7 separate regions of the Homo sapiens genome follow, and all the other regions are linked to region 7. Evidence: promoter capture Hi-C in 16 types of primary human blood cells and fetal thymus (Javierre and others, 2016). All regions are on one chromosome and are shown on one strand. The core of a region is centred on a gene start or on the middle of the fragment in contact, and the rest is flanking DNA. Distances in the headings are between cores, read along the strand shown.

The links. Contacts are between HindIII fragments. The CHiCAGO score rates a contact against its expected background, and 5 or more counts as called.
Region 1: a fragment that was not itself captured here is called in contact with the fragment with the promoter of SIRT5 in region 7 in 7 of 17 cell types (monocytes, M2 macrophages, total B cells and 4 more); the score reaches 6.6 in monocytes.
Region 2: a contact is called between a fragment that was not itself captured here and the fragment with the promoter of SIRT5 in region 7, in 1 of 17 cell types (naive CD4 T cells). The highest score is 5.8, in naive CD4 T cells.
Region 3: a fragment that was not itself captured here is called in contact with the fragment with the promoter of SIRT5 in region 7 in 3 of 17 cell types (neutrophils, monocytes and erythroblasts); the score reaches 6.8 in neutrophils.
Region 4: a contact is called between a fragment that was not itself captured here and the fragment with the promoter of SIRT5 in region 7, in 1 of 17 cell types (monocytes). The highest score is 5.5, in monocytes.
Region 5: a contact is called between a fragment that was not itself captured here and the fragment with the promoter of SIRT5 in region 7, in 3 of 17 cell types (naive CD8 T cells, total CD4 T cells and naive CD4 T cells). The highest score is 6.2, in naive CD8 T cells.
Region 6: a fragment that was not itself captured here is called in contact with the fragment with the promoter of SIRT5 in region 7 in 1 of 17 cell types (naive B cells); the score reaches 5.0 in naive B cells.

The regions. Positions count from the first base shown.
Region 1 is chr6:13,200,480-13,204,003 of GRCh38, reverse strand. The region is part of intron 7 of PHACTR1 (phosphatase and actin regulator 1); the gene reads right to left. Among named protein-coding and RNA genes, the nearest start is that of TBC1D7, 130 kb to the left of the region's middle. The HindIII fragment of the contact is 794 bases long and covers 1,526-2,319 here.
Region 2 is chr6:14,053,266-14,056,885 of GRCh38, reverse strand. No RefSeq gene overlaps it. Among named protein-coding and RNA genes, the nearest start is that of CD83, 63 kb to the left of the region's middle. The HindIII fragment of the contact is 3,354 bases long and covers 167-3,520 here.
Region 3 is chr6:13,249,522-13,252,862 of GRCh38, reverse strand. All of the region lies in intron 10 of PHACTR1 (phosphatase and actin regulator 1), which reads right to left. Among named protein-coding and RNA genes, the nearest start is that of TBC1D7, 77 kb to the left of the region's middle. The HindIII fragment of the contact is 2,763 bases long and covers 73-2,835 here.
Region 4 is chr6:13,181,185-13,184,570 of GRCh38, reverse strand. It overlaps PHACTR1 (phosphatase and actin regulator 1), which reads right to left. Exons shown (of 15, transcript NM_030948.6): 7 at 1,885-2,052. Among named protein-coding and RNA genes, the nearest start is that of TBC1D7, 150 kb to the left of the region's middle. The HindIII fragment of the contact is 5,224 bases long and covers 1-3,386 here.
Region 5 is chr6:14,071,554-14,074,921 of GRCh38, reverse strand. No RefSeq gene overlaps it. Among named protein-coding and RNA genes, the nearest start is that of CD83, 45 kb to the left of the region's middle. The HindIII fragment of the contact is 8,249 bases long and covers 1-3,368 here.
Region 6 is chr6:13,218,274-13,221,967 of GRCh38, reverse strand. The region is part of intron 8 of PHACTR1 (phosphatase and actin regulator 1); the gene reads right to left. Among named protein-coding and RNA genes, the nearest start is that of TBC1D7, 110 kb to the left of the region's middle. The HindIII fragment of the contact is 1,272 bases long and covers 1,518-2,789 here.
Region 7 is chr6:13,572,699-13,576,385 of GRCh38, reverse strand. SIRT5 (sirtuin 5) reads right to left here and starts at 1,785. Exons shown (of 10, transcript NM_012241.5): 1 at 1,642-1,785. LOC105374937 (a long non-coding RNA gene) reads left to right here and starts at 1,952. Exons shown (of 2, transcript XR_926497.4): 1 at 1,952-2,421; 2 at 3,165-3,687. RefSeq lists enhancers at 848-1,433, 1,023-1,502, 1,434-2,020 and a silencer at 1,713-2,232. The HindIII fragment of the contact is 7,984 bases long and covers 1-3,687 here.

The DNA.
Region 1 (3,524 bases), core at 673-3,172, 370 kb after region 7:
GGCCCATGGATTCAGGGTCTCCATGCTCAACAAAGTTGACCAGGTGGCCTTGGCCATTCTCCCAAGAGCTGCTGCAGTCTTCCCCAGCCTCCTCCAGGATCCTCACCTTCCACAGATGCCTCTCCCTATCCCAGTGAGGAACTGAAGAGGAGCACTCACGGCTTCCCCACCTCCCATTTAGTTCCAGCCCACTTTTCTCACCATTACCCAGACCATCCACCCTCACTCCTGAACTGCTGAGTTTCCTAAACTGCCTGATGTTCCCATAACCCTAGGCTTTTGCATGTCACTTTCCCTCAGTTTAGAATATTCTCCTCTGTTTTGTCTTCTTGGTCAATTACTAGTCGCCCTTCAAGATCCACCTCACAAACAATCACCCCTGAAAAGCCTTCCTTGATCATTACATCCCTCTTCCCACTCTGTGGAAAGAGAGTGGGAACGTGGATGCATATTATGTCCGTGTTAATCGTGTTAATGATGATAGCAGGAATGACGACAGTCATGATAATCAAGACTTCTATCATGCTTACTATGTGCCAGATACTGTTCTAAGGGCTCTTTGTATTCTAACCGGTTTAATCCTTACAACAAGTCTGAGGTAGATGCCATTATTATCTCATGTTTACAGATGATGAAACAGGGTCTCTGAAGACACTATGCTGCACTTCCTGTTTACATAACTGTCTCCTCTCCCGGAGAAGAGTGACAGTGTGTAATTTATTATTGTACCTCAAACCTCAGCATCTTGTTCAGTGACCAGCTCACATCACAAGAGATGCAAATCATGTTTACAGAATGAGCCAAAGTTATGATGATCTGCTGTGGGATGAATTCACACCTTCCCCAGAAATAGATACTCTAGGAGGGAGATGTGAGCCTGAAACAGATTACAATTTTAGGATCACGCAGTTGTGGCATATGGACACTAAACTTCTGATCCTACCGCTGAGACACAGAAAATTCTAATCATTTCAGGGGGCCTGATAAGATTGCTCCCCAACACCAGAATGCAAACCAGTCATAACCACAGGCTTCCGCATGTTCATTCCTGAGGGCTTGTCCTGTTCATTGTGACCCCTCATGCACATGGTGCAAGGTCACCACATTCAGGAACTTAACAGGCAGGCTAGCTAGTTCCAAAGTGCTGAGACACGGAAAAACTCAACACCATTGTCCAGCTCATCTTACTGAAGGGTCCACTTACATAGCTCTTAGAAGCTTCAGTGCAGGCGGGCGCGGTGGCCCACGCCTGTAATCCCAGCACTTTTCGAGGCCGAGGCAGGTGGATTACTTGAGGTCAGGAGTTCAAGACCAGCCTGACCAACATGGTGAAACCCCGTCTCTACTAAAAATACAAAATTAGCTGGGTGTGGTGGCAGGTGCCTGTAATCCCAGCTACTTGGGAGGCTGAGGCAGGAGAATCACTTAAACCCAAGAGGTGGACTTTGCAGTGAGCTGAGATTGCACCATTGCACTATAGCCTGGGCGAGTGAAACTCTGTCTCAAAAAAAAAAAAAAAAAAGCTTCAGTGCAAACCTAGCAAATGCAGTATGTCCTGAGGTGTTAAGGATTTTGCTCCAGGACCCTTAACCCATAGTCCTTCATTTGAAGACTCTGATTCTCTAAGGCAAGTAGGTGCTCATTTGCTTGGTCAGGAGAAAGAACCAGGAGGGCAGAGTGGAATTCTCTGCCTAGGAAGGAGCAGTGATTATATTGAGTTCTGCCCATCTTGTTAATCAATAGCTTCTCGTAACATTCCACCACTTCTTGTGACTTCTTCCATAGCAAAACCTACTTGGTTTCATCACTAGAAAATTGGCCAAGTGAGCCCCAGCAATTCTATGGAAACAGGCAAGGAAGAAAAGGCCAGCTGGACCAAGTTAGTGGAGACGGTTGTTCTTACTGTTCCAGGAAAGGCATGCTGGGGCCTTGGGGAACCCCCCTCCTTCTTTCCTGCTGCATCTCCTTTCTGGTCATTGTGATGCACATAGCTATGAATTAAAGGGCAGCGAATAAAAGCAAATCATTTAAAATCATTTTTGGCTCAGTGGATTTCATAAAAATGAACAAAAGTAAGAAAAGGGCTAAAATCAGGTAGAATTACTTGCTTTCTGTGAATTAGCCATGCAGTCTCTATCTTTCCCTAAAATTGTGGATAACTGAGGAGAGGCTGGGCAGCTCATGTCTTTGTTAGAGTGGCAATGCCTATTTGTATATTTTTACAACATCTTAACACCAAGTCATTCCCCATAACATAACTAGAGGCACGATTTGGAACCAGCTGCATATTATCTGTCATTCTGAACTTCCATCTAAGCTTTTAATCTCCCTTTTCCCACTCAGACTTCTGTATTCTCTGGCTTCTTGACCACTACACCAGTCTAGACACTCATCTCCTCTTATCGTGTGGATAATGCGGTCCCAGCCCTCTGATCTGTCCCCACTCTGTACCAGATATCTATCTCCCTACAGCACCTGCTGGGCATGCGTGAGGTCCATGATGGCTCCATGCTCAGTCCATGCTGCAAGTCCAAGTATGACTCTGTCTGGACTCTACTATGAGTCTCCCACTTACATCTCTCTCGTCCACTCTGGCCTCTGGATTTCCCGATAACCACGCTCCTTCTCTCTTCAGGGCCTTTGCTGTACTCACCTCCTGAAATGCCTTCCTGTTCCTTGATAATAAAAATTGCATTTGCCCCTCAAGCGGCAAATGAAGACCCGCTTTCCTCTGGCAGCCTTTCCTCCCTTAACTCCTACAACCCTGGTGGTCAGCAGCGCCAGTGAATTTGGCTCTGTTTTGTGCTGGTTACTGCTGGCTCCATTTGGGTCAGCCCTGTCTTCCCAGCTAGTTCCTGGATGGCTCCTCCTACATGTGCTGCAGCAGGACTCTGAGGCTGGGCAATGATGGAACGTGCTCACTGCCCTGTGGTCCTCAGGACCAGGACTGGGGGTGCATCAGAATCACAATGATGCTCATTCCTCTTCTCAGGGATTCTAGGTTGGGTTCCAGCATTATATTTCTTTCTTTTTTTAATTTTTTTCTTTTTTTTTTTTTTTGAGACAGAGTTTCGCTCTTGTTGCCCAGGCAAGAGTGCAATGGTGTAACCTCAGCTCACTGCAACCTCCCGCTCCCGGGTTGTTCAAGTGATTTTCCTGCCTCAGCCTCCGAGTAGCTGGGACTACAGGTGTCCGCCATGATGCCTGGCTAATTTTTTTTTTTTTCATTTTTAGTAGAGATGGGGTTTCACCATGTTGGCCAGGCTGGTCTCAAACTCCTGACCTCAGGTGATCCACCCACCCCGGCCTCCCAAAGTGGGTGGCCACCCAGTGCTGGCCACCTGGCCCAGCATTGCATTTGTAAAAAGCCACAGTCAAAAATAACTCTTGGCCTCTTACTTTTGTCCTTTTCTCTGAACAAAAGGGCACTATTTCTTAGAGCAGAGTCCTTGGAACACCTGCAATAGTTGCCTGATGCAACTTCATGTTCCTGGGCTTTACTTTGGACCTGCTGAACCAGAATC
Region 2 (3,620 bases), core at 594-3,093, 480 kb before region 7:
ACAAAAAGGGTCACTTCATTTCCCTTCAAGACAATGAGTCTAAAGGAACATCTTGTCTGCTCCTTGGACTAACTAGTGTTAAAGGCTTACTAAAAGTAAATCTTAGCAGGTCTCGGTGGCTCACACCTGCAGTCCCAGGTACTTGGGAGGCTGAGGCAGGAAAGCTTGAACCCAGGAGTAAGAGGTTACAGTGAGCAATGATAGTGCCACTGCACTCCAGCCTGGGAGACAGAGCAAAACTTTATCACTAAAATACATTTTTAAAAAGTTTTTATGTAACTTTTTTCATTATATATTTTTAAGTTAAAAAACTCACAACCTTAGACTAAGTATGGTCCCAATTTTGCAATCTTATGTTATATAGGCACTAAAAAGTCTGGAAGACTTAGTGAACATCTTTGAGAGAGTGAATTATGGATGTTTTTCTTTTGTCTTTGCTTATCTGTATTTCATTACTGTCTTCTACAGTCAATGATGATTACGCTTTGCCTCTGTAAGAAAAAGTCAATGAAGTTTTTTAAGTATTAAGAATTCATGGCCAGGCACAGTGACTCATGCCTGTAATCCCAGTATTTTGGGAGGCTGAGGTGGGTGGATCACTTGAGCCAGGAATTCAAGACCAGCCTAGGCAACATGGCGAAACCTTGTCTCTATGAAAAAATACAAAAAATTAGCCAAATGTGGTGGCGCACGCCTGTAGTCCCAGCTACTTGGGAGGCTGAGGCAGGAGGATTGCTTGAGCCTGGGAGGTTGAGGCTTCAGGGAGCTGCGATCATGCCACTGCACTCCAGCCTGGGTGACAAAGCAAGTCTGTTTCCAAAAAAAAATAATAATAATAATAATAATAATAATAATAATAATAATCACACTGCTTAGATTATAATAATAATCACACTGGGTACTTATTAATTATTTGAGTGAGTGAGAGTGAATGAGAATAAATGAAAGACAAGAGAACAGTCGTGCCATAGGTCCCTGCTCATCTGATGGATGGCTACCTTATTCTGTGCCTGAAAAGCAGAGACTTCAATACAGCTCTAGGCTTGCCTTCTGTAACCCACAAACAGATCAGTCACAGAAGAATAACACTGCGGAGAGGAGTGTGCTGAGAGGGAAGTTGTTTGTCATTTGTGAATCAAAAGCAAGACTGTGAAGGCCCCACCCCTAATTAATTGCAGGGATAAAGGTGAGTGTCTCATAGTGTAAACAACCTGAAGCAGCTGGTAAAACAAGTCCCCCAAGGACCAGATCCCAGCTAGCTAATTAGCAGATGCTCACCTGAGCAGACATCACACTCAGAGTCTTAAGGAACCTACCAGTATTTTAAAAATCAGCTGTGTTATGAGTTATTCTTCCAAGTCAAACAAGATAGGATCAAACTGTAGGGACCTAGTTTCAAAATTCAAGCTGTACCTTTAGAAGAAGGGTGGAAAATCACACTGCAGCAGAGAACAGGGACTAATTACAGTAAGTACAGTATTTGCTAGTTCAGATGTAGTTATTCTACTTTCAGTTGTATGATTTTGTAAAAATCAAGAGCATGCTTTGATTAAATATTCTTCTAAATTCATTCATTCGACATACATATATTGGCACCTGTTTATATGTTTCATTTTATTTTATTTTATTATTATTTTTTTGAGACAGAGTCTTGCTATGTCGCCCAGGCTGGAGTGCAGTGGCATGATCTCAGCTCACTGCAACCTCTGCCTCCTGGGTTCAAGCAATTCTCCTGCCTCAACCTCCCGAGTAGCTGGGATTACAGGTGCGTGACACCACACCAGGCTAATTTTTGTATTTTTAGTAGAGACAGGATTTCACCATGTTGGCCAGGCTGGTCTCGAACTCCTGACCTCATGATTCACCCGCCTTAGCCTCCCAAAATGTTGGGATTACAGGCATCAGCCACTGCGCCCGGCCATAAGTTTCATTTTAGAAGGCAAGTGTCACAGCACTTTATGAGAAGAAACTAATCTTTTCCACTTAAATGGGAGTGATATGCAGACAGTGGTGGGGTGCTGGAGCCAGTTTGTACTACCCACGGGAGCTGATTGTTAAATTTTCAGGATTTTGCAAGCTGGTTGTTAAATACAGCTATTATTAAAAACTAAAATGATGGGCGTGGTGGCTCATGCCTGTATTTCTAGCACTTTGGGAGGCCGAGGCGGGTGGACCATGAGGTCAAAAGTTCGAGACCAACCTGACCAACATGGTGAAACCCCCGTCTCTACTAAAAATACAAAAATTAGCCCAGCGTGGTGGTGGTCACCTGTAATCCCAGCTACTCAGGAGGCTGAGACAGGGGAATCGCTTGAACCCGGAACGCAGAGGTTACGGTGAGCCGAGATCGCACCACTGCACTCCAGCCTGGGTGACAGAGCAAGACTCCGTCTCAAAACAAACAAACAAACAAAACCCTAAATTGTATAAAATTGCAATTAAATTGTATTAAAAACAAGGGTGATAAATACTCAAAACATCTCTTTCTAATAATTTTACTACATTTTGTTATTACCTAGGCTCTGGGAGTTATTTTCTTCTATTGGACCTGTATTGTCAAAGTACTACATAATGATATGTATGCACATCTCGTCTGGTCAATGTGCGCAGTAATGTCACGCTGGAAATCAGCCATACAAGGAGTATTTACACCACAAAAATTGGCAAACACTAAAAGTCAGGGCTTTTTTGTTGCTTGTCTATACTTTAAAAGGTGACAGGAAATGTTAATGATGCAGATTCAATGTAAAAGTGTGTCATAAAACTGAAAAGCAGATCTATAGCTGCTAGATTGTGAGTAGCACCAAAAATTGAGGAAATATTCTTCCAGTATGCAAAAATACTGGGAGAGCCGATTCAAAAATACTGATGATCTAATTCAGTGCTGTTACTCATACTGACTAATGAATGAAGTTTCCACATCTTGATGGTTTTCTTTCTGTTCATTCAGAATAAACAAAAACATCCATCAGCATTCATGTTAGAACTACACTCATTTGTTAATGCTTTGAGTGACTTTGCTGAATGGGATAGTAATCAAACGTTAGTTCATAGTTTGATTTTTGTCAAATCATGGTTGGATTAGAACCCCAGGTTGACTATGGATACAATAATTCAGCAGAAATCAACAAAAGCCTTTTGTAAGAATCAATTGGCTATTGAAATTTATAATCAAGAGTATTGCCTACTTTATACTTATTTGTGAATTGTGTGCTACACACTTTACATCAGTAAAATTTATGATAAATATATGTGCTTATATATCTGCATACATATCTTTCCTAGAAAGCTAGTTGTTGAACAAACATTTACCAGTGCACCACTTTGTGTGGAGTTCCAATAAAGGCGAAGTAAGCCAATCCTGCCAACTTCAGCTATATATCAACCACCAAAATAAAAATGACTTAATATATCCTGAAAATGCCTGTGATTGTTTAAAAAATGCCAGACAACAGCCATAGATGGAACAAACTATAATAAGGCACATGGTAGGCTGGCTTAACTCAGTCATTTCCAAGCTTTCAATATTACCTGGGTATAAGGGGAAATGTTCCCCTTCCTTCACGGAGTATATTTCCTCCACCTCTTCATTCCTGTACACCATTGTTCTGGAATCCGAA
Region 3 (3,341 bases), core at 205-2,704, 320 kb after region 7:
ATTCTCCTTTAATAAAAGTCTCATTTTCCCTACCTTTCCTGACCCATGGTCCATAAATTTAAACATAAAGCTTCATTTTTAAGCCAATAGCCTTGTAGCCCAAAGGAATGGTATGAATATAGATACTCTCATTAATCTCTAAGTGTTTTCCTGCGGCCGATACTCTTTCACAAAATACATTTTTCTGCAGATGTGACACAACAACAAAGAGACCCCTCTCCTCTCCCCCAAAACTTTTTTTTTTTTTAATAACAGCAGCATGGCAGATTTTAAGAATGTCTAACCAGTGTAGATTTGTATTTTTGCATTCTTTGAAAATTGGTTAATTATAATGAGATCAGGATAGATGGAATTTTAATAATGGAAATAATGGAATGAGTTATTTATCCAGGAAAGGATCTATTTATATGGGAAACGGAAAGAAGGAAAAGAATGGAAAATGGAGAGTCAAATGGAAGTTTCAAATAGACTTTATCCTTTTCTTTTTTAGACTTTTTTCTTTTCTTTCTTTCCTTTTTCTTTTTTTTTTTTTTTTGAGACAGGATCTTGCTCCGTTGCTCAGGCTGGACTGCAGTGGCACGATCTTGATTCACTGCAACCTCTGACTCCCAGGCACCTGGCTAATTTTTTTTTTCTATTTTTTTTTTTTTGTAAAGGCAGGGGTTTGCCATGTTGCTCAGGCTGGTCTAAGCGATCTGCCCTGGGCTCAGGCGATCTGCCCACCTCAGCCTCCCAAAGTGCTGGGATTATGGGCATAAGTCACCGTGCCTCCTGGCCTTTTCTTTCTTTCTTTCTTTTTTTTTTTTTTAAGGCAGGATCTTGTTCTGTTGTTCAGGCTGGAGTACAGTGGTGCAATCACAGCTCACTGTAGCCTCAAACTGCTGAGCTCAAGTGATCCTCCCACTTCAGCCTCCCCAGTAGCTGGGACTATAGGTGTGTGCCACCATGCCCAGCTAATTTTTAAATTTTTGTAGAGATGGGGATCTTGCTATGTTGCTCAGGCTGGTCTTGAACTCCTGGCCTCAAGCAATCCTCCTGCCTCAGCCTCTCAATCCCCTTATTATATATATAAATTTAAATGATTTTTCACTAATTCTTCAGCTAATCTACTCAATGGCTTGAGAGAGAGCCCTTGAGAGCGCAGATAACTGCTTTCAAATAGGAGACTCAAAGAGAGGCTGAATTTAGAGCTGGTATCTGCCATAGGACTGTCAGAGCTCAGCCTGGCACACATTAGTCCGTGTTCTCTTCCCTTCCTTATGGTTTTTTGTTTTATTTTCTCACATTCCGGTCACATCAAATACACTCAACACACACATGCACCATGAATACATCCCCACCCTCCCCTATATGAGGCCAGACAGACATCAGAGACCACAGCGCCCCCAGCACATGGGCAGGCAGTTTCTTGATGCTGAAATGCCCCAGCTGGAGGCCGGTGAGAACCTGGACAGATCCTATTTGCAGCCCTGCACCCGTGACCGTAATGTCCCTCTCAGGGAGCACCAGACAAACCAACTCCTGCAGTGAAGATAAACACCTGCCTCCATCCTGAGGGAACGACTGATTGTGTAACGTTCCCCTCAGTCACAGGAGCCATCTCCCCCTTCTAGGAGAGCGCCCGCCTATGGCCAGCATCCCACCCGATGTGTCTCTAACAAGAGGTCACTGGGAGGCTGAGTGTGCCTGGCAGGCAGAATCCTACCCACAGCAGACAGGGACACACAGCCACTCGGGGCCCTGAAAGCTGCCCTTCTCAGGTGGCTGCCACTCATGGGAGAGGCATGTGGACGATGCACAGGGACCACTGTCAGTAGCTCCTTTCACTGATCAGAAGATTGATTGTGTGTGTGTGTGTGTGTAAAATGGATATGTTTTCTTCATACAATAAGTGTCATGTAGAGGATTTGTCAGCCTCTCTTCACCACAGTGTTACACACATCCCAAGCATATTCCACGGTTTTGCAATTTGCCAGAGCTCTTGCCACATCTCTTCCTATCTGTGTAACACTCCATTTGTGCACCACCTGTCTTGAGGATAGACCTGTCTTGCGCCCAGACCTGTCTTGCGCCCAAGGAGTCATGTTTTAGTATCTGGCTCTTACTCGTTGGCGACCCTCCTTCCAGCCCCCACCTTTTCCTGCAGGACTTGGAATCTAGCTTCAGCTGCAAAAACAGGAACATACTTCTCACACCTGCTGATATTTATTTTCAAGCTAAGCCTGCATGGCATGGCTGTGGCCTTCCTTTCTTAAGGACAACATACATTTTCTGCTTACACAGATTCCTTCTCTCAGTCTGTCTGCACAGCCAGCCCCTTCTTATCTGGCCGGCAGCTGAGCTGAGCTGCTTTCAATGATACCTGGTTGTCCTTGAAGTAGCTTTTCTAACTGCTCAGGTAATAAATCAAGTTTGAAAAACTGGACCGTATTCCCAGCATAATCTGTATGCTATATGATGCTTCACAGGCGGATCTGGACTAAGAAGTAAAGGTAAATGGGATTATTTTGATGATTAGAGTAATGAGCACAAAGGAAATCCCTATGTGTGTGAGGATGAATTTAGTTTCTTTCTCTAATGGAGATATTTCGGGCACATGCACTTTCTAAATAGATCTAGGATCAGCACTGTGAGAGGAAGGCCACATTCTCTAATGTCCTCAGTCTAGGTCCTTAAATGTCTCATTTCTTTTTTCTTCAAAGGGCCAGATAGTAAATACTTTGGGTTTGTGGGCCATACAGTTTCTGTTGCAGCTACTCAACTCTGCCATTATGGTGTGTAAGCAGCCACAGAGAGCAGGTAAATGAATGAGTGTAACTGTGTTCCAATAAAGCTTTATTGACAAAGACAGAGAGTGGGGTGGGTTCAGTCTGTGGGCCACAACTGGTGGGCCCCTACCATGGAGTGTCACCAATGTCTGAAAACTATTTCCTTGAAGCATCAGCCAGTGGAGCAGAACCACATAAATGGTCATAACTTACAAGACGGAAATTATTTTGGTTTCCCAATGAAAAATGAAATAGGTGATTCTTTAGTCACCATACTTTTTTTTTTTTTTTTTTTTTGAGACGGAGTTTTCTCTGTTGCCCAGGCTGGAGTGCAGTGGTGCAATCTTGGCTCACTGCAACCTCCGCCTCCCAGGTTCAAGTGATTCTCCTGCCTCAGCCTCCTGAGTAGCTGGGATTACAGGCGCCTGCCACCACATCCGGCTAATTTTTGTAGTTTTAGTAGACATGAGGTTTCACCATGTTAGCCAGGCTGGTCTTGAACTCCTGACCTTAGGTGATCCACCTGCCTTGGCCTCCCAAAGTGCTGGGATTACAGGCATGAGCCACCACGCC
Region 4 (3,386 bases), core at 408-2,907, 390 kb after region 7:
CAGGGAGAAAGAGGAGGAGGATGTTTTCTCAAAACCATCAAACACTTGACCATTTCAAACTCAGCTTTGGTCATGCAAACCCTACACATGCTCTAAGATGGGACTCATGGGGCACAGCAGGAATCACCAGGGTGGCCAGTGCAGAAGGCCCAGGATGCAGAGCCCCTCTAAACCAAACCAGAACTGAATGCCAGCAGCCTCGCTGGGGCCTGCTTGCCCTTTGCTGAGGGGCAAGAGGGAGTGGATTCAAACAAGTGGAGGGGCTCAGTTTTGTCCACTGGGTCCGCTCTGTCTCTGCTCTCAAATCTGCGACACTGGGTACAGATGACAGCCTGGAACGCTGACACCTCATAGGCTGCACCCCAGGCACTGGACGGCTGCTCCTCCAGGTTCTGGAGTGCCCGGCGCTGAGCAGCAGCCTCTCAGCCCAAATTCTGTAGTTTTAGCAACAGCATCCTGCCCCCACCAGCTCCTGTAAACTTTGACGAGGCAAGGGATGCTTTAAATCAACCTTTTCATCTTCCCCTTTCCTCTCTCTTCTTGCTCACCACAACTATAGTTTTCTTTTATCAATTCCTCCATTTCTCTTTGCACTGCATTGGACGCGCCTCTTCCTTTCTTTCATGGGGGAACCCCTGACTGGCTTTCATGAAGAGTTGTCATTGGGTGGTGGCACACACCTTCCTATCATGCCGGTAGCTTGGCTGATGACAGATTGAAACTCTGTGATTCTGCTGGAATGACAGATTTTTACTATAACAGTCAAATCTATCTGACTTCAGTGTCACAAGGAAGTCTGGATTCTTTTTAAAAAAGCACTGCTTTCATTGGGAAACCCTCCCTGGGGTGGGAGGGTGTAACTCCACTGCATCTCCTCTCACCTCCCGCCACCGCCTCAGTGAGAAAGCCTGTAAGGGACTCCTCCCCTCCCCACCCTCCTTCCTCCTCCCTGATCAGGTGTTCTGTGCAGCACCAAAGCCCTGCTGAAAATCCTCATGAGCACTACATTCTCCTGCCTCAGGGACACTATTATTGTCAATGTGGCACACAGTGATGGAGCAATGACTCACCGGGTCCCATAACGAAGCATGGGAATTAACCCTGTGAAACCTCATCCCTCCCACCCTCCCACGTGACTGCCTATGGATGTGGATTTTGCACATGATGGGGAGAGAGGCCTTTCTATCTATACTCTGGATATTGCAAGAGGTTCCTTCTCCCAGACTCATCTCCTGACAAGTACCACTGCTCATTAGCTGTCAGGAGGGACCTATTTTGGGGCAAATTAGGACCGCTCTGCAAACCTTCTGAGAGGATGAGTATTGGCCACTCAGCCACCTTTGGACCAAAGAAGGAGATGACAGTCAGATGGCATCAAAAATCAGCTATCAGCAGGATACAATTCAATCAGTAAATTATATACAGTTTAATAGACAATTAAATTAATTGACTATATCCAGTAAATTGATACAAGTATTAACTGGCATACTGGGACTAAGACTAAAGGACCTTTCAGACAGACGAATTAGATAGGTATCATATAGAAATGTAGGATTCCTCAGCTTTATCTTAACAGAGATGAATGTTAAAAAACAAAATAATAATATTTTAAATCATTAATGTTACAAAAATAAGCCATATCATCTTTAAAGAGATTAAGGTAGTAAAGAGTTTTTTAAACACTGTAGGATAATAAGTGTAAGTATATTCCATTTTTAAAAATACTCAGTATGTACTAAAAACTAATCTGTTTCACTAAATTTCCAGATCCTTACGCTCAGGATAGTCCAAAATAGAATTCCAAGTCCAGCCAGGCCAAAGATCCCTGGTGCCTGGCTGGACTTGGTGTCTGGGACCTGCTCTACAATCCTGCCGGGGCATTACCTGGCCCATCCATGATGTCTGACGGTTGGAGCACCTCATATGAGCAGGGATCCCTGGGCATTGGGACTGGCTCCATTTCGGACAGGGCAGGCAGAGACAGCTGGCTGGAGCTCAGGGACTGCCCATTTTCTAGGGAGTCCTCTTCATTGGATATAGAGAGTTCCCCATCTGTCAGAGAGAAAAGGAGATTGCAGAGTTAGACAATGTCTGCCTTTCAAGAAAGAGTGGCACTTCCCGCCTGCTGAGTCTAGATGCTGCTGAACAATCAAGGTCAGCCTCTGAAACCAACATCTGTTATTTTGCTTTTAAGACATTTATTTCATCGTTAGAGATATGTTGTCTAATCATCAGGGCAAAAATTTCCAATGATCTTCAGCATTTTGCCTGTTTTCTCTGTGTCTTTCTAACCCGAATCCATCACGTTTTCTATGTATTATTATTATTACTTTTTTTGAGACAGAGTTTCACTCTTGTTGCCCAGGCTGGAGTGCAATGGCATGATCTTGGCTCACCACAACATCCGCCTCCCGGGTTCAAGCGATTCTCCTGCCTCAGCCTCCTGAGTAGCTGGGATTACAGGCACGTGCCACCACACCCGGCTAATTTTGTATTTTTATTAGAGATGGAGTTTCTCCATGTTGGTCAGGCTGGTCTCAAACTCCCAACCTCAGGTGATCCGCCCACCTGGGCCTCCCAAAGTGCTGGGATTACAGGCATAAGCCACCGCGCCCGGCCATTTTCTATGTATTTTTAAAAATAAAAAGTAAATTAAAATTATTTTTTTCTCATAATTTCTAAAAACTTGGGAAAAAACTCAGCAAGCCTCAGAGATTGGAAGACCAGGATTGGGAATTCCTACTTTAGGGAGCAAAGGGCTTCATGTCATTCAACACGCACCAAGGTCCTGTCTTCTGTTTGCCTCCACCCTGGTCCAATTTCTCTACTTGGATAAACTATTAGGACAGCTCTCATCTGCACCTAACAGGCTGCAGCCACTCAGCGATGCTGGGAAGTGCCAGAATTCTCCCGGTGCCGACCACCAATCACGCCACGTAGTGCAGACTTTGATGTTGCTTAAAGCTCAGCAAAACAAGGACCACGGTGCAGGATCAAAGGCTCCCATACAATGGCCATTTGTCAAATCACAATTCCCCCTGTGTGATTTCATCCTAGCCCAGGGGAGTCTTAGATAACTAGACATTAAAGTCAAATTAATTTTTAAAGAGGACTGAAAGCTGTTCCAGCGAGATGAATAAACACCAGATGAAAGACTAAGTTCTGCCGAGTCAGAAACAGAAACCAGCAGAGCAATTATCCGACTTAAAACCAGAAGCAAGATGACAACTCGTAGAAAAGAAACAGTTAAGTGACTCCAAGGTGATTCTTGGGTAAATAATCCTTTCCTTTTTGCTATGTTCCACCTCTAGTTTAATTTTATAAATCACTGATCTATGGTGGCACAGAATCCCTCCTTGGCCCACCCCCGCCCGATTAGAGTCCGT
Region 5 (3,368 bases), core at 481-2,980, 500 kb before region 7:
TTCTGGTGTGCTGCCTCTTCGTTTAATGTAGGTTTAGGTATCTCTTGTATAATCTGAATACACCACACATTAGGCCCCGGTTCTGGACTTGAACTGTGGTTTTATTATATGAAATAAAAAGATTTTAACCACAGAATAGTTATTCTTCTGACAGACTGCTACTTGTATCTCTGATTAATTTATGTCATGCTTGGTTCTTAATCAAGAGTCAACCAATAATTAGAGCAGGGTCCCTGCAGGAAACTATGATCCCATTTATGACAATCCATTATGTGATTTAAATTGCAAGAAGGAACCATGGGGAAAAGGGGAGTATAAACCTCATTTATAAATTAGACCTTGACTTTTAGTTGAGCTATTCCCTTTAACTGGATCATTCCCATGATCAAAAGACATTTTCCTTAGAAGTAAATATTATCCCTGTGACCTTTTATACAAAAAGACATGAAATTATTGAATGATACTTTTGAGCAGACACATTTTGAGACATTAAATCTCTCTCTCTCTGTGTGTGTGTGTGTGTGTGTGTGTGTGTGTGTGTGTGTGTTTTCTAGTACATTTCCTCTAGCCTAGTGGTTATCAAACTCACCTGTACATTAGAATCCCAGGAGAGACAGATTGTGAGAGGTACAAAAACCCTCAGATATGGCTTGACTCTGTTTCCACACAAATCTCATGTTGAATTGTAATCCCCAGTGTTGGGGGGAGAGCTGGTGGGAAGTGATCGGTTCATGGAGGTGGATTTCCCCTTGCTGTTTTCATGATAGTGAGTGAGTTCTCATGAGACCTGATGGTTTAAAAGTACGTAGTGGCTGGGTGTGGTGGCTCACATCTGTAAGCCAAGCACTTTGGGAGGCCAAGATGGGTAGATCACCTGAGCTTGGGAGTTTGAGAGTAGCCAGGGCAACATGACGAAACCCCGTCTCTACTAAAAATACAAAAATTAGCAGGCCATGGTAGCATGTGCCTGTAGTCCTAGCTACTCAGGAGGCTGAGGCACAAGAATCACTTGAACCCTGGAGACAGAGGTTGCAGTGAGCTGAGATCATGCCACTGCTCTCCAGCCTGGGCAACTGAGCAAGACTCTTGTCTCCAAAATAAAAAAAGTGTGTGGCACTTCCCCCTTAGCTCTCTCTCCTGCTCCATCATGGTAACACATACTTGCTTCCCCTTTGCCTTCTACCATGATTGTCAGTTTCCTGAGGCCTCCCAGCCATACTTCCAGTACCGCCTGTGGAACTGTGAGTCAATTAAACCTCTTTTCTTCATAAATTACCCAGTCTCAGGTAGTTCTTTATAGCAGTGTGAGAACCGACTAATACACCCTTTCTTGGGGTCTGGATTGGGACCCCTTTCCGGTAACAAAGTAACAATTTAATTAAAAAATTAACACATTCAAACATGCAAAATATACTTCTTTATAATAAAAAATAAAATTATTTATCTCAAATATGAATAGCAAAGTGTTAGTATCTATATACTAAGAAGTCCTTCTAAAGTAGTGGGAAAACATGAATTACCCAGTAGATAAACTGGGAAAGATACAGGCAATAATCTCCCCAAATCCCCCAATTTTCCTATTTGTGAAAATACAAATAGGAAACAGATATATGGGGAAATGTCCAATCTCATCAGTAAGCTGATGTAAATTTTTAAAATAATCATCATATATCTTCTAAATTAACAAAGGGTTTTTAAAGACAGGACCTTATGCTGGTGAATTTATGATAAAATTAGAACACCCTTCAATGCTGTTGATATTGTCAATTTATACAACTCTTTGGCAAAGCAAACTGATAATATATATTCATTTAAACAAGGTGTTCATATTCTGTGCTCCAATTATGCAATTCTTGAGAATTTATCCCAAAAATGCCTCCTTAATTCAAGTGAAGGAAAAAGCTCTATGAAGGAAAAACATCAAAATAGCAAAAAATTGGAAAAGAAATGCATATGCAAAAATGGAAGCATAATTAATAAATTATGGTATATTATCTCCCTGTATACAGCCACTTGGTAATTACAAAGGCTATAGGCCATCATGAGAAAATGTACATATTATATTGAAACAATATAAATTATATAAAAAGGTATATTCTGTTTATATTTGCATTTAAATATTGATGTATAAACAAAAACTAAAAGAGAGTTTACCAAAATAAAATGTTTATGCTTTTATATTCTCTGAGCTAGTCTTCATTTATTCAGTACAAATTATTTTATTTTATTTATTTATTTACAGTGGAGTCTTGCTCTGTTACCCAGGCTGGAGTGCAGTGGCATGATCTTGGCTCACTGAAACCTCTGCCTCCTGGGTTCAAACGACTCTCCTACCTCAGCCTCTCAGGTAGCTGGGATTACAGGCATGCACCACCAAGCCCAGCTAGTTTTTGATTTTTAGTAGAGATGGGGTTTCACCATGTTGGCCTGGCTGGTCTTGAACTCCTGACCTCAGGTGATCCACCCACTTTGGCCTCCCAAAGTGCTGGGACTACAGGTGTGAGCCACCATGCCCGGCCAGTACAAATTGTTTTAGTGTCTATCCTCTCAAAAGATAAAGACCCTTAAAAACCAAGAGGCATGTTGGTCAGGCTGCACTCTGGCTTCGGGTGGAGAATTTGTTGGTTTGTGTGTTAAGATGAGTCAGATGCTGGGGAGAGTGGAGCACATGCCCAGTGTATTCACCGAATGTGGCTCATGGGCTTTTAAAAATCCCCTTGGCTTTTCTTGCTAACAGCCTGAAATTACGGGAATCAGCGGGTATGTCTGCATCATATTGAGAATTTCCCTTTTCACAAAAAAGCACTAGGACCACTTTTTTTTTTTTTTTTTTTTTTGAGACGGAGTCTCACTTTGTCACCCAGGCTGGAGTGCAATGGCGCAATTTCAGCTCACTACAACCACCACCTCCCGGGTTCAAGTGATTCTCCTGCCTCAGCCTCCCAAGTAGCTGGGATTACAGGCATGTGCCACCATGCCCGGCTAACTTTTGTGGTTTTAGTAGAGATGGGGTTTCACCATGTTGGCCAGGCTAGTCTCGTACTGCTGACCTCAGGTGATTTGCCCGCCTCGTCGGCCTCCCAAAGTGCTGAGATGACAGGCCACAACTTGTTTTTTGTTTTTGTTTTTGTTTTTTCTGAGACAGAGTCTTGCTCTGTCGCCCAGGCTGGAGTGCAGTAAGTGACATCACAGCTCACTGCAGCCAACTCCCCAGGCTCAGGTGATCCACCCACCTCAGCCTCCCGAGTAGCTGGGACTACAGGCTTGGGCCACTAGACCTGGCTAAATTTTTGTATTTTTTTGTACAGATGGGGTTTTACCATGTTGCCCAGGCTGGCTTTGAACTCCTGAGCTCAAGCAAACTGCCC
Region 6 (3,694 bases), core at 904-3,403, 350 kb after region 7:
CGCCTCCTGGATTCAAGCAATTCTCTGCCTCAGCCTCCCAGGTGGCTGGGATTACAGGTGCCCACCACCACACCTGGCTAATTATTATATTTTTAGTAGAGGCAGGGTTTCACCATCTTGGCCAGGCTGGTCTTGAATTCCCAACCTTGTGATCCACCTGCCTTGGCCTCCCAAAGTGCTGGGATTAGAGGCGTGAGCCACCGTGCCCGGCCACCTTTGTTCATTCTAACTGGATTATTACAGATGATGATGGAAGTTAACATTTCTAAATGCTCACACTGTCCCACGTGTTGATTCACTTAAGCCTCACAAGGATCCTAAGAGATAGGTACTATTGTGATCTTCCCGTTTTAGATGGGAAAATGCAAAGGCACGTGGCCAAGGTCACACAACCAGAGGGGTGCAGACACTGAATTCAGGCCATCAGACTACAGGACCTGATCTACTGATGTCACTATACCACTGCCTATGTAGAAGTAGTGGTCCCCCAATGGTTGCAAACTTTAATCTTCTTCCAGACCCTCCCCCTCCCCACCCACCCAGTCCACCCTCTATTCTGCTGTCAAACTGGTCTGATCATGTAATTCTCCTAATCAAAAGAGCCAGGAAAGGCCTCATTGTAAACTGGATCAACTCCACCCTCTACAGCATGGATTAAGAGGTGCCTCACGATCTGACCCTCCAACTCCTTTCAATCTCATTTGTTATTATTCCTTACCATCTTCCTAGGGTTCCAGCCATATCAGACCACTTGCCATTGCCCAAGTACCCTGTGGACTTCCCTGCCTCCTCCCTCTGCTCCTGCAGTTGCTCCGCCCCAGAACTCACCCTTCAGATTTTGGCCTAGAGAGAGCATCCTGCCTATCTTTCAGGGATGACTCAAATCTCATTTCATTTGAGCATCCTTTTCTGATTTTTCCAATGGAAATCAGTCCCTTCTCTGCACATCCATAGCCTCTGTTCCCAGCTTTGTTATAGCATCTGCCACATTATGTTATAATTACAGGCTAAGCATTTACCCCCCACGCCAATTAACTGTGAGCCTCTCCAAGACAGAGGCTGATGATCTTCCTGCCTCTACCTCTACATTGCACATGTGTTTGGAACTGATGGATAAGTTGATCAAATATTTGAATTGAAGTCACACACAATCAGAATACACCACATTACATTTTCAATTACTTAATTTGCTAAAATTAGGATCCCTGACCCTTAGATAGAGTCTTGCTGTTGTAGGGAAATTATCTTTGTGAAAGGAGCATTAGGATTTTTGGAAATAGTGCTCTAGAGGTCTTTTTCCTAAGAAGACAACTCAAGGAGCTAAGGCACAGAGATCTATGCAAGCAAGAGCACATTGGTACCGTGTGGCCTTCATTCCAGGACTGTGTCTGCACAGAAGAGGTAACAGAGAGAGCTTATGATATTCCAGTTTCCAATTCTATACTCACAGGCCGTCAGCCCACTTTAATTCAGACTGTCCAAAGTTAGGCTGCTTTGTAAGGTGACGTCATTAAGCTTGATGAGATCTATATGGTTTCCTCTTATACTAACATTCTATAATGAATTTAAACAAAGACCAAAGGCCTTAAATTATTTTCCAAGGGAAAAACAGATGAATTTCTGCTCCCTATCACCTAGGTAGCACCAAATAATGTCATTTTCTTGACAAATGTAATAGGGATGAACATGCAGAAACTGAACAGCATTCCATGATATTCACAAGATGTTGGACAGATAGATGCACCATTTCGGAATATTTCCACACAATGTCTTAAAGATACCAGCGGGTTCCACAGCTCAGGATGAAGGAGCAGGAGCATCTTTCAAAACCACCACATGGCTACCGCAGATGGTCCTTTAGTGCCCTATGAAAGCGTGTTGTAAATGTTCATCATCTCATTTAATCACCACAAAAACTTGCAGAGTTAAGAAGGGTATTGTTATTATCTTGATTGTTTATGAATGGGGACATGAGGTTTCTGAGAACACAGTGATCACTCGGCAGTGATCACAGCAGGATGTGAACTCAGGTCTTCCCACCCAGGGCCTGTGTTCTTTCCATGAACCATGTTGCTTTCTCCTGGAGAATCAGCAAAGCCCATCATTTTTTCTGTAGATGTATATGCTGACTATGAAATGCAATTTATACCGCAAATTTTAAAAACCGTGGACTATAATATTTTTATAACAAAAAGCAAGGATAACAGATGTTCACACAATCCAGCTACTCTCTTGCTATGAATTTTGCTGTGAAGAGTCCCATGATGAGCGCTATTATGGAACACACAGGGAGGGGGTTTGAATTCTAGACTTGGGGATACAAGTTTTGTGTGAGTAGCACATGGCTGGGGGTGAGTAGGTGTGCGGAGAGAATAGGCGACAAGAGGAAGGACAGAATAATTACCAGGCTGGATAATCCAGCCTTGCACAACGGAGCGCTGCTGATAAAAAGGGGTCGTGCAGTGGGTTTTGTATCTGTTGTGGCCACTTTAATAACACGTCTCCTTGAGGATAGAGAGGCATCACCACCACGCTCCTCCCATGACCCTGCATGATGGTTCTTCAGTGCCCCGTCCCTGCCCGACATCACATTACACATTCACAGGCTTATTACCTGTCGCTCCCACTAACGAGTAAGCTCACAAGGATGAGGACTTTGTTTCATCCTCATTTTCCCCTAGAGGATGGAACAGCTTAAATGAACAGAAAATAATGAACAGAAGTATCCCTAAAACAGAAGCCTTGCTATTTACACAAGAAACACTGAAAAGAGACATATTTGGAAAGCTTGAGAGGAAAATGGCAGTCCCGAGTCAATAAAAGGCACACATTTAAAACTGCCTTCCTCTCATCACATCTACAGGATGCCTTAGGGAGGTGAAAAGCTGTACTCTATTCCCTTGGTCTTGTTCCCACCAAGAATGACCTTTACCAAGCCTTCTTTTTGGAAAACTCGACTCTTCTCTTTAACTCTGTTAAACTAAGTAGGAGATGCATAGGTTGAGAGCCCGGGTAGATAACCATTTCTGCCTCCTTTCCCTTTTTCTACCTTTTCTCTTCTCTTCTCTTCTCTTCTCTTCTCTTCTCTTCTCTTCTCTTCTCTTCTCTTCTCTTTCCTCCTCCTCCTCCTCCTCTTTTTCTCCTCCTCCTCCTCCTTCTTCTTCTTCTCCTCCTCCTTCTTCTTCTTCTTCTTTTTAAATAGCTCATTGCAACCTTGGACCTTTGGGCTCAAGCAATCCTCCCACCTCAGCCTCCTGAGTAGCTTGTACTAACAGGTGTCACCATACCTGGCTAATTTTTTGATTTTTTTTGTAGAGATGGGGTCTCGCTATGTTGGCCAGACTGGTCTCAAACTCCTGGGCTCCCAAAGTTGTTAGGATTACAGGAGTGAGCCACCGTGCCTGGCCTTTTCCCACCATTTCAATGGCCGAATATTTTTAAGGGATCTCTAGACTTCAAAAATGAAGACACTGACTTATCTTTCATGTTCATTACTGGATAAGGGTAAGGCCCAGACTTTACTTTCAGTCTTTCATACAGGAATGAATGCCAAGACATCTACAGTGAGTCTGGGTCATTATAAGAGGCACTCCCTTTTCAAGGGGGCTTTGTAATCATCACTTTATCTCCATTCCACGGTACAGGCTGATGAGTAGGAAATCACTGTGACCCATCCATGGGAGGGGAATTACTG
Region 7 (3,687 bases), core at 536-3,035:
CAAATTAAATCACACTGAGCTACCACCTCACGCTTGTTAGAATGGCTATTATAAAAAAGATCAAAGACAACAAGTTTTGTCCAGAATGTGGAGAAAAGGGAACCCTGGTACACTGTTGGTGGAATGTAAATTAGTACAGCCATTTTGGAAAACAGTATGGAGGCTCCTCAAAATCTAAAAATAGAATTACCACATGACCCAGAAATCCTACTTCTGGGTATATATACAAAGGAATTGAAATCAGTATGTTGAAGAGATAGCTGCATTCCTGTGTTGTTTTCAGCATTATTCACAATAACCAAGATATAGAAGCAACTAAGTATCCATCAACTGAGGACCGGATAAAGAAAATGTGGCACATATATACAATGGAATACTATACAGTCTTAAAACAGAAGGCAATTCTGTCATTTGCAACAACATGGATGAACCTGGAGGACATGAGGCCAAGTAAAATAAGCCAGGCACAGAAGGACAAACAGCACATGATCTTACTTATATACTTGGGGTCTAAAAAAGTTGAACTCATAGAAGCAGAGTAGAATGATGGTTACCAGGGGCCTGGCAGAGGGCTGATGTGGAAGGGAGGGATGTTGGTCAAAGGATACAAAGTTTTAGTTAGGTAAGAGGAGTAAGTTTTAGTGATCTACTGCACAGCATGGTGACCATAGTTGATGATGTATTGTATATTTCCAGGAGAGTAGATTTTCACCACAAAAAATAAGTAGGTGAGGTGATGGATATGTCAATTAGCTTGATTTAATCTTTCTACAATGTATACATATATCAAAACATTACACTGTACGCTATAAATATATAAATTTGTCAATAAAAATAATTATATAAATATATATTTATATAAAACAAAATACATGCTAAGGATAATGCAATGAACTGCAAAAAGTTGTACAGGCTCCCAATAAATAATTTTTGAACGCCTAAGAGCTAAATAAATGCAATACATCACTCCCAGGTGTCTCCACTAGGGGGCCCCATTCCCTCCCGTTCCATCACCTGCTTTCCTCAAGGTCGTCTCCACCCTCCTATTTGTTGATACCCGGCCTCTGACCCAGTTCATCACTTTCCCGGGCTTCCGGGCGCCACCCTCTTCAGGTTTTCCTCCTACCCCTCCAGCCCTGCCCCTCTGGATCTCCCATCCTCCCAGCGCGCCAGACTGCATGCGGCCTCCCCGCCCTGTGTCCAAGAGGCAGCTTCCACTCCACGCGGGCAAGCCTGAGCTCCAGAGCCGTCCTCAAGCCGCCTCCCCCCGAAGCACTGGGACTTCATCCTCCCGGCTACTACTCGTGCCCAGGGACTAGGCCCTGAGCCTTCCCTTCTCGCACGCCCCATAGCCAAGCTGCTCAGCAGAACCTGACGGCTCCACCTTCAAACTACGTCCGGAATCCGACCCCTCTCCACGCCCACTGCCTCCACCCCGGCCACCTTCCTCGGTCACCCTGGCAGCTGCAATGACCAGGGTGACCTTTCTGAAAAGGGAGGCTCTGTTCGGAGCCCTCGCGGGGCTCCCCAGCACAGCGGCCTCCCATGCCCACCTGCTCGGGTGGGATTACTTTCCAACCCCGTTTCCATCCCCCTCCCTGGTCTCCAGCCGCAGCGACCCCCACGCAGAGCCCGGAAGACCTTGGGCCCCGCACATGCTGCCGGCCCGCTAAGAGCTCTGGGTACCCCCGGAGCGCCTTCCAGGCTTTCTCCTAGAGGCGCTGTGTCCCGACCGCGCTCCGGACCTGAGCCACGGCTCACCTGGGGCAGCTCGCGCCCCCGAATACAGTCTCCCACGCCCCGCCCCCCGGGGTGCCTCCCTCCCAGCTCTCTGTACCCACCCACCATCCCCCACATCCCTTCCTCCAACCGCTAGCCAGTCACCAGCCCGGGACCGCAGGGCAGAGGCCGGGCCGCGCATGCGCACCGCGGACCGGTGCCACCTCCGCTCGCGAGCCCGCGGCAGGCCCTGGGCGGTGCGCGCAGTCCCGCGAGAGCAGTGCTTGGTCGGGACCTCGAAGCCGGAGCCCGAGCGGGAGAGGCCGCGGAGACCCCGGCCCGGCGCAGGCAGAGACGCACCTGCGGGAGGCGGGCGCGCCGGCTGGAGAGGAGGCCGTGGGGCGGAGCGGCTCAGCGTTCTGCTCGGCTGCAGCGGCCCCTGCCGGAGACCCGGGCGCCGTGGTCTTCTTTATAATTGAAGGATTGTCTCTCTGTTTTTATTTGGGGTGGGGGTGGGGGTGGGGGGCGGCGCAGTGACTTGCTTCGACTTTGTCAGCTTCCAGGGTTCATTCCACTGCCCAAATATGTAGTGAGTTACTACCGGCTTTGCTTCCTCCTTCAGCAAACGGCTGGACCACACAACTTCAGGAGAGAGGATTTTAAATGTTAGGGTCATTTTCCCTAAAACGATTTCAAATGACGGTGAGTTGGTTCCCAGGCTAGGCCACCTAACCTCGAACGCAATGACGAGTGCACTCTGACTGCTGAGCTGAGAGCCTTCCGTGGCTCTGGGACCCAGTGACTCACGTGGCTCCGCATGTCCCCGTTCCCTTAAAATCGGAGTCTTTCCTTTTCTTGGATTCCGGCTTGCCACCAGCACCACTTGGCAGAATGGAATTGCTTGCGGGCATGTCAGTGGACTAGAAAGGGAAGTAAGTGGTCTGAGAACTTGGGGGCCAAAAATGTTACATTAACATTTTTTGCCTACCTAAAATCTCAGCCACTTCCCACAGTTTGGCTGGAAATTCAGCCCATGTTGAGGCCCTTCTCATTCCTGCAGGTGTTACCAGCAACTCAGAGGTTTATGGAGTAACGAAATTGGGGAGGGCCTCACATCCGGCTGCTGTTTTTCCCCCTAACGTGTATGGTGCTTATTCTGAGCCAGACACTTTTAAGAACTGCACATTATTAACCATTTTAAATCGTCCCCACCACCTGATGAAATAGGTACTGTTATCCCCACTTTATGGGTGGGGAAACCGAGGCCCAGGGAGGTCAAGTAACTGCGCAAAGCACAAAACTGTTGAGTAGTAGTGTTACCAGGGCAGTCCTGGAGAAATCGCTCAGAGGGCAAAACTGAGAGCTCATTATTTTCTTAAACAGTAGACAGCTGAAAATGCTCATTGTTTTTTAAACCGTTTTGTTTGTTTGATTTTTTTTCCTAGTCTCTTTATCTATAGGTAACCCAGCTTAAAACAACTGCGGTTGGCCCGGGATCCTCACTGCCCTTTGCCAAGTACCAGAGAAAGATAAGGCCTACTAGGAACCAGAGAAAACCAGAACCAGCCACCCCTTGTTACTTTTAGATCATTAATACATCATTATATGCTCAACTCCCGACCCGTAGAAGAGAATCGCCGCCATTTTCTGATAGTGCATTGTATGAAGAGGCATGTTTATGAAATGCACCTGTGCGTCTAGAGTTCCTCCCGGCATATGCTTGCATACCTCCCCACTCCACATCTAACGCCTTACAATTCCCCAGCTTCCCAAAGCTCTGGAAGAAGGGGGTCTTTAGAGTGAAAGTTTACTCCTTCTCTATTCCTGGCCAGGAATGAAACCCGCTTGCCGTTTTTTCCAGTTGGTGTGCTTTCTTTGCAACTGATACAGACTAGGAAAAGAACGCAATTTACCAGTAACAGTAGAGCTGGGATTTAAATCTAAGTGCTTTGACTTCAAAGACAAGGT